Regions from separate parts of the Homo sapiens genome. Here region 1 is linked to region 2. Evidence: promoter capture Hi-C in human tissues and cell types (Jung and others, 2019). All regions are on one chromosome and are shown on one strand. Each heading gives the region's core, a stretch centred on a gene start or on the middle of the fragment in contact. The rest is flanking DNA. Distances are from core to core; before and after follow the strand shown.

What was found. The method cuts DNA at HindIII sites, captures the fragments that hold promoters and counts their contacts. A contact is called where the count stands out against the background at its distance.
Region 1: a fragment that was not itself captured here is called in contact with the fragment with the promoter of ANKRD16 in region 2 in 1 of the 25 tissues and cell types used here (spleen).

What each region holds. Positions count from the first base shown.
Region 1 is chr10:6,411,655-6,416,338 of GRCh38, reverse strand. It overlaps a transcript of PRKCQ not described here. Among named protein-coding and RNA genes, the nearest start is that of LINC02656, 64 kb to the right of the region's middle. The HindIII fragment of the contact is 9,433 bases long and covers 1-4,684 here.
Region 2 is chr10:5,886,472-5,891,361 of GRCh38, reverse strand. ANKRD16 (ankyrin repeat domain 16) reads left to right here and starts at 1,469. Exons shown (of 8, transcript NM_019046.3): 1 at 1,469-2,321; 2 at 3,295-3,515. The coding sequence starts at 2,008. It overlaps FBH1 (F-box DNA helicase 1), which reads right to left and starts at 1,119. Exons shown (of 21, transcript NM_178150.3): 1 at 1,016-1,119. The coding sequence starts at 1,016. RefSeq lists silencers at 687-736, 927-1,646, 1,787-1,896, 1,907-2,186. The HindIII fragment of the contact is 15,491 bases long and covers 1-4,890 here.

The DNA.
Region 1 (4,684 bases), core at 793-3,292, 520 kb before region 2:
TAGGTACAGTGCACACTGCTCAGGTAATGGGTGCACCAAAATCTCAGAAATCACCGCTAAAGAACGTATCCATGTAACCAAAAACCACCTGCACCCCCAAAAAAACTATTGAAATAAAAAATTCAATTAAATTTTAAAAAAAGAAGAATCTTTGTATTTTGCACTCATTGTATGTCTGCTCAATCATATCAAGAATCCAAATGGCTATATCCTAATAAATATTTGATTCCTACAGGCTTATTTGCCAAGTATTCTATAAAGTGGTCCATTCCTTTTTCAAAAGAGGAAAACAGGCCAGGCATGGTGGCTCATGCCTGTAATCCCAGCACTTTGAGAGGTCGAGTCGGGCATATCACCTGAGGTCAGGAATTCAAGACCAGCCTGGCCAATATAGTGAAACCCCATCTCTACTAAAAATACAAAAAATTAGCCAAGCATGTTGGAGGACACCTGTAATCCCAGCTACTCAGGAGACTGAGGCAGGAGACTCTCTTGAACCCAGGAGGCGGAGGTTGCAGTGAGCCAAGATCACACCACTACACTCCAGCCTGGGCAACACAGCAAGAGACTCTGTCTCAAAAAAAAAAAAAAAGAGAGAGAGAGAGAGAAACATTAGCAGCAATTGTCAACAATGGGGCTTCATTTATAATTTGACCCAAACAATCCCAGAATAGTACAAACATATGGTTCTGGGGATCTCAGCGCAGAGGGAATTCTACAATGGCAGTGACCAGACTTTAACCACTGGTGTGCAGTATGACTTGTTCCCTCCACCTTACCACAAGCTTGTTCTCATGCCTTCACCTCCTTAAGCTAAATTAGAAAGTTCTTAACCTGAAGTTCATGAATGAGCTGAAATTTCCTGTAAATTTTGAGTAAGTGTATATATATATATATATATATATATATATATATATATATATATATATATATGTATTTTCTTGGGCTTAAGATTTTCTCTTTATCACTAGGTTTAAGAAATTTGATTACAATATGTGTTGGTATCGTTTTCTTTGGTTTCTTGTGCTTGGGGTTCATTGAGCTTATTGGGTGGTGTGGATTTAAAGTCTTCATCAGGCCAGGCGCAGTGGCTCACACCTGTAATTCTAGCATTTTGGGAGGCCGAGGCGGGTGGATCACTGGAGCTCAGGAGTTGAAGACCAACCTGGCCAACATGGCAAAACTCCATCTCTACTAAAAATGCAAAAATTAGCTGGGCATGGTGGCTCACAACTGTAGTCCCAGCTACTCGGGAGGCTGAAGCTGGAGAATAGCTTGAACCCAGGAGACGGAGGTTGCAGTGAGTGGAGATTGCACCACCGCACTCCAGCCTGGGTGACAGAGCAAGATTCTGTCTCAAAAAAAAATTAAATTAAAATTAAAAAATAAAGTCTTCATCATACTTGGAAAGTTGGAGGCCATTATTTCTTTAAATGTATTTTCTGTCTCCTCCTCCTTTGGGTCTCCAATTGCATATATATTTGGCCACTTGAAGTAATCCCATAGTTCATTGATGTTATGGGGGTTTTCTTTCTTTTTTTTTTTTCTTTATCACTTTTATCTCAGGGTCTTGGATAATTTCTATTGCTATGTTTTCAGATGTACAAATCTTTACATGCATACAAATATTTTCTTTGTAATATCTAATCTCCCATTAATCCTAATCAATGTATTGATTATCTCAGACATTATAGTTTTCACCTCTAGAACTTCAATTGTTAAGAGATATTTTATGTCTAGACTTAATGTGTTCAATACTTCTAGCTTTTTGAATGTATGGAATGCAGTTATAATAATACATTGAATGTCCTTGTCTATTAATTTTATTATCTGTGTCATTTTGGGGTCAGTTTGATTTGTTGATTCGTCCCCTCCTCATTTATTTTTCTGTTTCTTTGTGTGCCCGGTAATTCGTTATTAATGTTGAATGTCAATACTTTTTCTTTGGTGAGAACTGGACATTTCTGTATTCTTAAAAACAGTTTTGAGCTTTGTTTTGTGATGTGGTAAAGTTACTTGGAAATTGGTACTTTCAGATCTTGCTTTAAATTTTACTGGAAAAGATCAACAAAATGTTTGATCTAAGGGTAGTTTTCCCCACTGCTTAAGATCTCCTGCAGACCTCAGGATTTCCCTTTCTCCAGTCACTGCCCTGTGAGCCCCAGCTGCCTGGGACCCTCTGGACTCTCTGTTCTACCTACATGACTCAGGGAACCTTCCGGAGTCACCTTGAGTTCCCCACGCATTTGCTGTGCCCTTGAAACCTTCTCCAGGTAGGAAAGTGCTACAATCTTGGGGATCACCTTATTTGCTCCCCATCTTTCAGGGACCACTGAGATTCTTTCTGACCTGATGTCCAATGTCGTCAGGGCTGTTATTTATTGTTAGATTTTGGTTGTTTCTGGTGGGAAGGCAAATCCAGTTCCTGTTACTTCACCTTGGCCAGCAGTGGAAAGCTCAAATATTTTTCTTTTAGCTGTTTAATCCAGTGCTTCCTAGTGTGTGTGTGTGTGCACGCGCACAAGTGGCATTTAATCCAGTGCTTCCTAGTGTGTGTGTGTGCACAAGTGGCATTTAATCCAGTGCTTCCTAGTGTGTGTGTGTGTGCGCGCGCACAAGTGGCATTTAATCCAGTGCTTCCTAGTGTGTGTGTGTGCACAAGTGGCATTTAATCCAGTGCTTCCTAGTGTGTGTGTGTGTGCACAAGTGGCATTTAATCCAGTGCTTCCTAGTGTGTGTGTGTGTGTGTGCACAAGTGGCATTTAATCCAGTGCTTCCTAGTGTGTGTGTGTGTGTGTGTGCACAAGTGGCATTTAATCCAGTGCTTCCTAGTGTGTGTGTGTGTGTGTGTGTGTGTGTGTGTGACATAATTTTTTATCCTCCCATGTCTACATCTTCCTAAGGATTAAAAATATTCATGTTGAAGAATAGGTTGTTGCAGAGGAGCCCAGGGAATGTAGGGAGATACTGTTTTTATTGGTGACATTGATGAGAAGTTTTAATATTTATATTTCATTTGTTTTTGCTGTTTAAAGTAAGCCTAACTTTTTTAGAGTGGTTGAAAACATAGAAAATTGTGATGTTTAAGGCCGGGCAGAGTGGCTCACGCCTGTAAGCCCAGCACTTTGGGAGGCCTAGGCGGGCTGATCACAAGGTCAGGAGATCAAAACCATCCTGGCTAACATGGTGAAACCCCGTCTCTACTAAACATACAAAAAATTAGCCGGGCGTGGTGGCGGGTGCCTGTAGTCCCAGCTATTCAGGAGGCTGAGGCAGGAGAATGGCGTGAACCCAGGAGGCGGAGCTTGCAGTGAGCCGAGATGGAGCCACTGCACTCCAGCCTGGGCAACAGAGTGAGACTCTGTCTCAAAAAAAATAAAAATAAAAAATAAAATTGTAATGTTTGTACAGAAAACTAGAGTACACGAGCAATTGTGCTCATAAGTGATTGTGGAAGGCAGCAACCAGCCTAGGAGTACTGACAATACCAGGCTGTACCTAGTGGCCCACTGAGGGATCAATAACTCAAGTCACTTGTAACCCGCTTACGCTATACCAGTGTGCACATTGGTCAGGAGGTTCTGATCTAATCAATCATGAATTTAATATATGACGTGAGATAGGCATCTAACCTTATTGATTTTCCAAATGGATAACCAAGTGACTCAATGCTGTTTTCTGAATGGATCTGTCCTTCCCCCACTGACTTAAAATTCTATCTTTGTTGTGAATTATTTTACCATACATATCTTTGCGTATCTTTGAATATCACCTGTTATGATCTATTGAGCTGTTTGTTCTAACATCGAGAACCAAGTGTTTTGGTTGTTATCACTTTATAGCATGCTTTGATATCTTAGCAAGGCAGTTCTTTTAGATGTTTTTCTTCTATATTCTTACACATGTGCTATTAAAAATGAACTTTAAAGTTAGCTTTAATTTCACTTTTTAAAACTCCCTTTTGATATTTTTATTGGAATTCCATTGAATCTCTAAACTGATTTGAGGATGATAAATTTCTTTTACATCTTAAAGCGAATTCGAAGATAACTAAACACTCCTTTGCCCAAATATGACTTTAGAGTCTTCTTACCATAAATCCATCACATTTAAAAGTCACTCCTCTTTTCCCAAGCATGATGGCATATGCCTGTAGTCCTAGCTACTCAGAGGCTGAGATGGGAGAATCTCTTGAGTCGAGGAGCTTGAGCTATGATGGCACCATTACTCTCCAACTTGGGCAACAGAGGAAGACATCATCTCTTAAAAAAATAAGTTTCTCCTCAACTTCCAGCTATTGTCTGGGTTCATAGGCTAATTTTGCCAGTGACTGAATAAACTTGAGGGAGTACTGAGATGCTGGGCATTTTTGTGTTTATCAAAAAGACTTAGTATCTATCAAATACTTAGAAGTGTGTGTGACCATAGTAAACAAATAAGTGTTATCTATCATCATCATCATTATATGGCATTACTATCCCTGTAAAACACTTCATCCTAAACCCTTTGTGTTTATCTCTCTGAGCTTTGATAAGATGTGGCCCTCAGGTGACAGTGATGAGTAGCCAACTCATAATGTAAACTATGTACCAGGGTCAGCAAATGTTTCTGTAAAGGACAATTTAGCCAATATTTTAGGTTTTGACAGCCATACAGTCTGTGTTGCAACTACTCAACCCTGCTG
Region 2 (4,890 bases), core at 220-2,719:
AGTGACAAGGCACGACAGAACAATAACCTGAGCAAAGCTGGTACTTGGACTAGTTCTGTCTCCAGAGGCTATCCACATCACTGTTACCTTAACCAAACTCAATCTGCTCATGAGTAAAACGGACTTATCTTCATGGGCCCATTCCAGAAGTCTTTTCATTTATCTCCGCTCATTTTACCACAGCGGCAGACGCTGGCGGACACTCAACACATGCTACCATCCTGCCTTCCAGAAGACTTTATTACCTGTAATTCTGTAAGAAAGTCACTGACTTGGTTAGGCCTCCACTTCCCCACCTGTAAAACCCTACTGATGCCTCATAGGGTTGTCTTCGGACCACAGACTGCAATAAAAAATGTAAACGGCACTCGTTTTTAGGCCTGGCAAATAGGAGCTACTCCCATTCTACTCCCTAAAGGAATCGAAAACATGGAGAGGTTAAGTGACTGGCACCTAATCAGATCGGGTAAGGAACCCAACACCTACTGATCTCTTCCATCACCCACAGCCTGCCCAGCTCTCGCCGTGCCCTCCACCAGCGCCAGGCCTCCCACATCGCCTTAGGCTTCCCATGCTCAGAGGAGGGGCAGAGAAGCTACCGATGACACAGGGGCAGAGGGCAGCGAAAAATGACTTGCCCAAGGTCAAAACGTCAGAGTAGACGGGAAAGCCTGGCCTCCTAGCAGCCGAGGCCACGTCCCCGCGCTTGCCCCTTCAGCCCCGAGGACCCACACGCTGCGCCTTCCTGGCCTCGGGGGGCAGCGCGGGGGCCGCTCCCGACCGAGTTCAGTGAGCGCCCTGGCCTCCCCCGCGCACCCCCGCCGCGCCCTCCACCTGCCCACGGCCCGGACGGCCGAGCCCCCACGCCCGCGCTTGCCCGAGCCCAGCCTCGCGCCCCCGGGGCCCCCGCTGCCCCACCCCGGGCCCGGACCCCCCGCGCAGGACCCCGGAGGTTAAGTTTTCCACACGGCGGAGCCCCTCCCACACTCCCTGCCACGTCTGCGGCCTCACGCACTGTGGCGCTCCGGACCCGGACCCCGCTGCCGCCGCCGCCGGGCCCGCGCCGCCGGCCGCTCAGCCCAGCGTCCCCCGGCAGCGAGCTCCTCCTCTGGCCGGGACCTGGAGCCCGAGACGCCCGCCGACTTCCTCCGCGAGCTCCGCCCCGCCGCAGCCCCGGGAAGCGCCCGCCGCCGGAGCCGGACTGACGGCCCCCGCGACCAATCGGGACGCGAGACCGGAGGGGGCGTGCTGACGGACGGCCACTAACGCCAATCGAAATGCGCAATCGGTGGGGGCGCGGCCACAGCTACCGGGCCACGCCCCATCCGCGCTTCCGCTCGGGCCGGGGCGGAGCGGGAAACTTTCCCAGAGTTCCTTCGAGCTCCCCGAGTCCCCGCGGAGCAGCGGCGGTCGAGGGGCGGGGACGGGGGCGGAGCCCAGGAACGCCGGCCCCCAGGGGCTGGAGGCTGGGGCGGCCCTGAGGACGCGTGCGGGGCAGGTCACGCTTGGGCCTGGCTGCCTCAGGAGCCACCCTGCACGGCGCCGGGCGAGGCTGTGCGCGCCCTCCCGGACCCTCCACTTTGGGGCTTTGCGGTGTAGCGGCGCGCCCCACTCCCTTACGTGTTCAGTCCCGAATCACGTACGGGCCGCTGCAGCTCCAGGACGGCGGACGCCAGCGCTCTCGGATCCCCAGGCCCCTCCGTGCTCATCCCGGACCGCTCCGTCCCTGAGGAAAAACCGCCCCGTGCCCGGAACCGCGGCTTCTCCCACGCGGGGCAGGCCGGGGCTGTGAGGGGGCAGCCCGCCTGCGGACTAGGCCGGGGGTTTGAGGAGGCGGCTCTGCCGGGGACAAAGCCGGGGGCGTGAGGGGCGGTTCTGCCGGGTTCGGGGCGCGCGGGGCAGGTTGCGTGAAGAGGCGGAAAGTCCCACTCGCCCTCGGCTTCTCCCTGCCCGGCCGCCGGTGTCCCGCCCGCCGCCTCCCCGCGCAGCCCGGCCCGACCCGCGGCGATGGCCCAGCCCGGGGACCCGCGGCGCCTCTGCAGGCTGGTGCAGGAGGGCCGGCTGCGCGCCCTGAAGGAGGAGCTGCAGGCGGCCGGGGGCTGCCCGGGGCCGGCCGGGGATACCCTCCTGCACTGCGCCGCGCGCCACGGGCATCGGGACGTGCTGGCCTATCTGGCCGAGGCCTGGGGCATGGACATCGAGGCCACCAACCGAGACTACAAGCGGCCTCTGCACGAGGCGGCCTCCATGGGCCACCGAGACTGCGTGCGCTACCTGCTGGGCCGGGGGGCAGCGGTCGACTGCCTGAAGAAGGCCGACTGGTAGGTGTGGAGCGGAAAGACACCCCGCCTCCCCTCTACTCGCAGAGTCGTAGCGAGTTCCCTGTGCTTCTCCGTCCCCTTGGACACCGTAGCTGTTCTCAGCTCCTAGTTCTCACCCCAGGCCTGCTCAGCGGCAGGGACCTCCTGCCCAACTTTCCCTTATAACGCAGATGACCTGCAGAGTCCCTCGTTCCTGCCCTTGTGGGTTAACTGGTCGGGGCAGTCACCTCCCTTTCTAGAGCACGGAATAGTGTAGAATATAACCAAAGAGAATGTTACCAAACAATGAAGTGTGTGCACTATACAGATAGCCTCCGGATGCGATGTTCTGGGGACATTTAGCTAAGTTACTTCTGCACCAATGCATTGTTTCAAGTGGCATTGCTCCAATCAATATCCAGAATTCCTGAGTTATACACGCGCTCGTGTGTGTAGAGCACAGTGCAGTTGTATCACATACGTGCAGCCTTGCATAACCACCACAGTCAGAGATACTCTGCTCCACCATCACACAAGCCAATTGCATTTCGTTTGTTAGATTGACACTGATTTTAGTACTCACTAGGTCAGGTTCGTTAGAGGGCGTGAACATCTTTAGGAACATAGGGAAGTACATCTTCCCCACTGGGGCAGGGGAATAGACTTCGTTATGTGTTGAGGGTTGTCTGTGGGTTTTCTTAGCTCTGCTCCAATTCACTGCTATCCTGTGAACTAGCTTATAAGCTGCTTTGTCTCCCAGGCACCCTCTCCTCTAGGTACACGTTCGTTACAATCATTTTCCCCTTATTATTTCTCCCAGGGTCCTCACAGAAGGCACAGAGGTTGCCGGTCAAAGCTGTTTTCCTGCCTGCCAGACCCCTGAATCCTCTAGGTTTTCCATCTGTGCCAAGGATGTGTGTGTTTTGAAGACCTGGCCCCTGGCTTCTAATGTCTCAGCTGCCTCCATCTGACAGCTTCTCCTGGTTGGCCTTAGGACTCCTCTGATGATGGCCTGCACAAGGAAGAACCTGGGGGTGATCCAGGAGCTGGTGGAACATGGCGCCAATCCACTCCTGAAGAACAAAGATGGCTGGAACAGTTTCCACATTGCCAGTCGAGAAGGCGACCCTCTGATCCTCCAGTACCTGCTCACTGTTTGCCCAGGTGCCTGGAAGACAGAGAGCAAAATTAGAAGGACTCCTCTGCATACTGCAGGTACAGCCTACAGCTCTGCAGGTGAGCAGTACACACATGTGGCTGCTTCACCCAGCACTGCCCAACCGCATCTTGTTCAGGTCACCTTCAGGGGAAAGGAGGATTTTGGAAAACAGAAGGCAGAGAATAAGAACATCTGGGGGGGAGGGGGTGGGGGCGGGGGCGCGGGTGCAGTGGCTCACGCCTGTAATCCCAGCACTTTGGGAGGCCGGAGGCGGGTGGATCACCTGAGGTCAGGCGTTCAAGACCAGCCTGGCCAACATGGTGAAACGCCGTCTCTACTAAAAATACAAAAAATTAGCCGGGCGTGGTGGCGGCTGCTTGTAATCCCAGCTACTGGGGAGCTCCAGAGTCTGAGGCAGGAGAATGGCTTGAACCCAGGAGGCAGAGGTTGTACTAAGCCAAGATTGCACTACATTACACTACAGCCTGGGCAACAAGAGCAAAACTCCATCTCAAAAAAAAAAAAAAAGCATCTAGGGGCCTTTTGGCATATAATCAATTTCTAAAGTTAACATAACTTGGCTAGCATGCTGTGGTATTAATTTATTTTTCGTGTGTATCTGTGTTATCCTCCCTAGATTATTTGCCCATGAGCTGGTTCTGTAGCACATAGTCTTTGACCTTGGGTAAGGAAATTAGTCTCTCTCTTGAGCAAGTTTCCTCATCAACCAAATAATAATGTCAGTGATGGTATGTCTCAGGGTTGTTGTAGAGTTTAAAGAGCATGATGTATGTAAATCCTTTAGACAATGCTTGGCACATAGCACAAAATAACTGGTTAGTGCTATTTTCTTTATCATGTTTACATTCTTACTCTTAAAGGCAGGAGGGAAATATATATCCTCATAGCCTTAGTAACACCTACCATAGTGCTATACTTTTAAATAAATATAGATACTCATAATTAAATACCTTGGCCCAATAACATCTAATGTAAATTTGGGTTACAGTTTTTATTATTTGGAGTAGTGACTCTTAACTCTGAATTATCTATTTGTAGATTATTTTAGTAAAAAGTTTCAATTTGCTCATTTGTTTGAAGAAAGTAAAAAGAAAACAATTAGTAAAAAGTAAAATTACTGTAATTTCAGAAGTTAGATATTAAGGAGCTCAAGAGTCTAGATTAAGAAATTCAGAATATAACTTGTAGCTTTCTAGGTAGTACATTGATTAGGATAGAGGGCTTTTAGTTTCTCTAAAAATCATCACTTGTGATGTTTTATAGTGTTGCTTTTTGTCTTTTGTTTTTTTTTGAGACAGAGTCTTGCTCTGTCACCCAGGCTGGAATACAGTGGCACGATCTCGGCTCACTGCAACCTCTGCCTCGCAGGTTCAAGCAATTCACGTGCCTCAGTCTCCCGAGAAGCTGGGA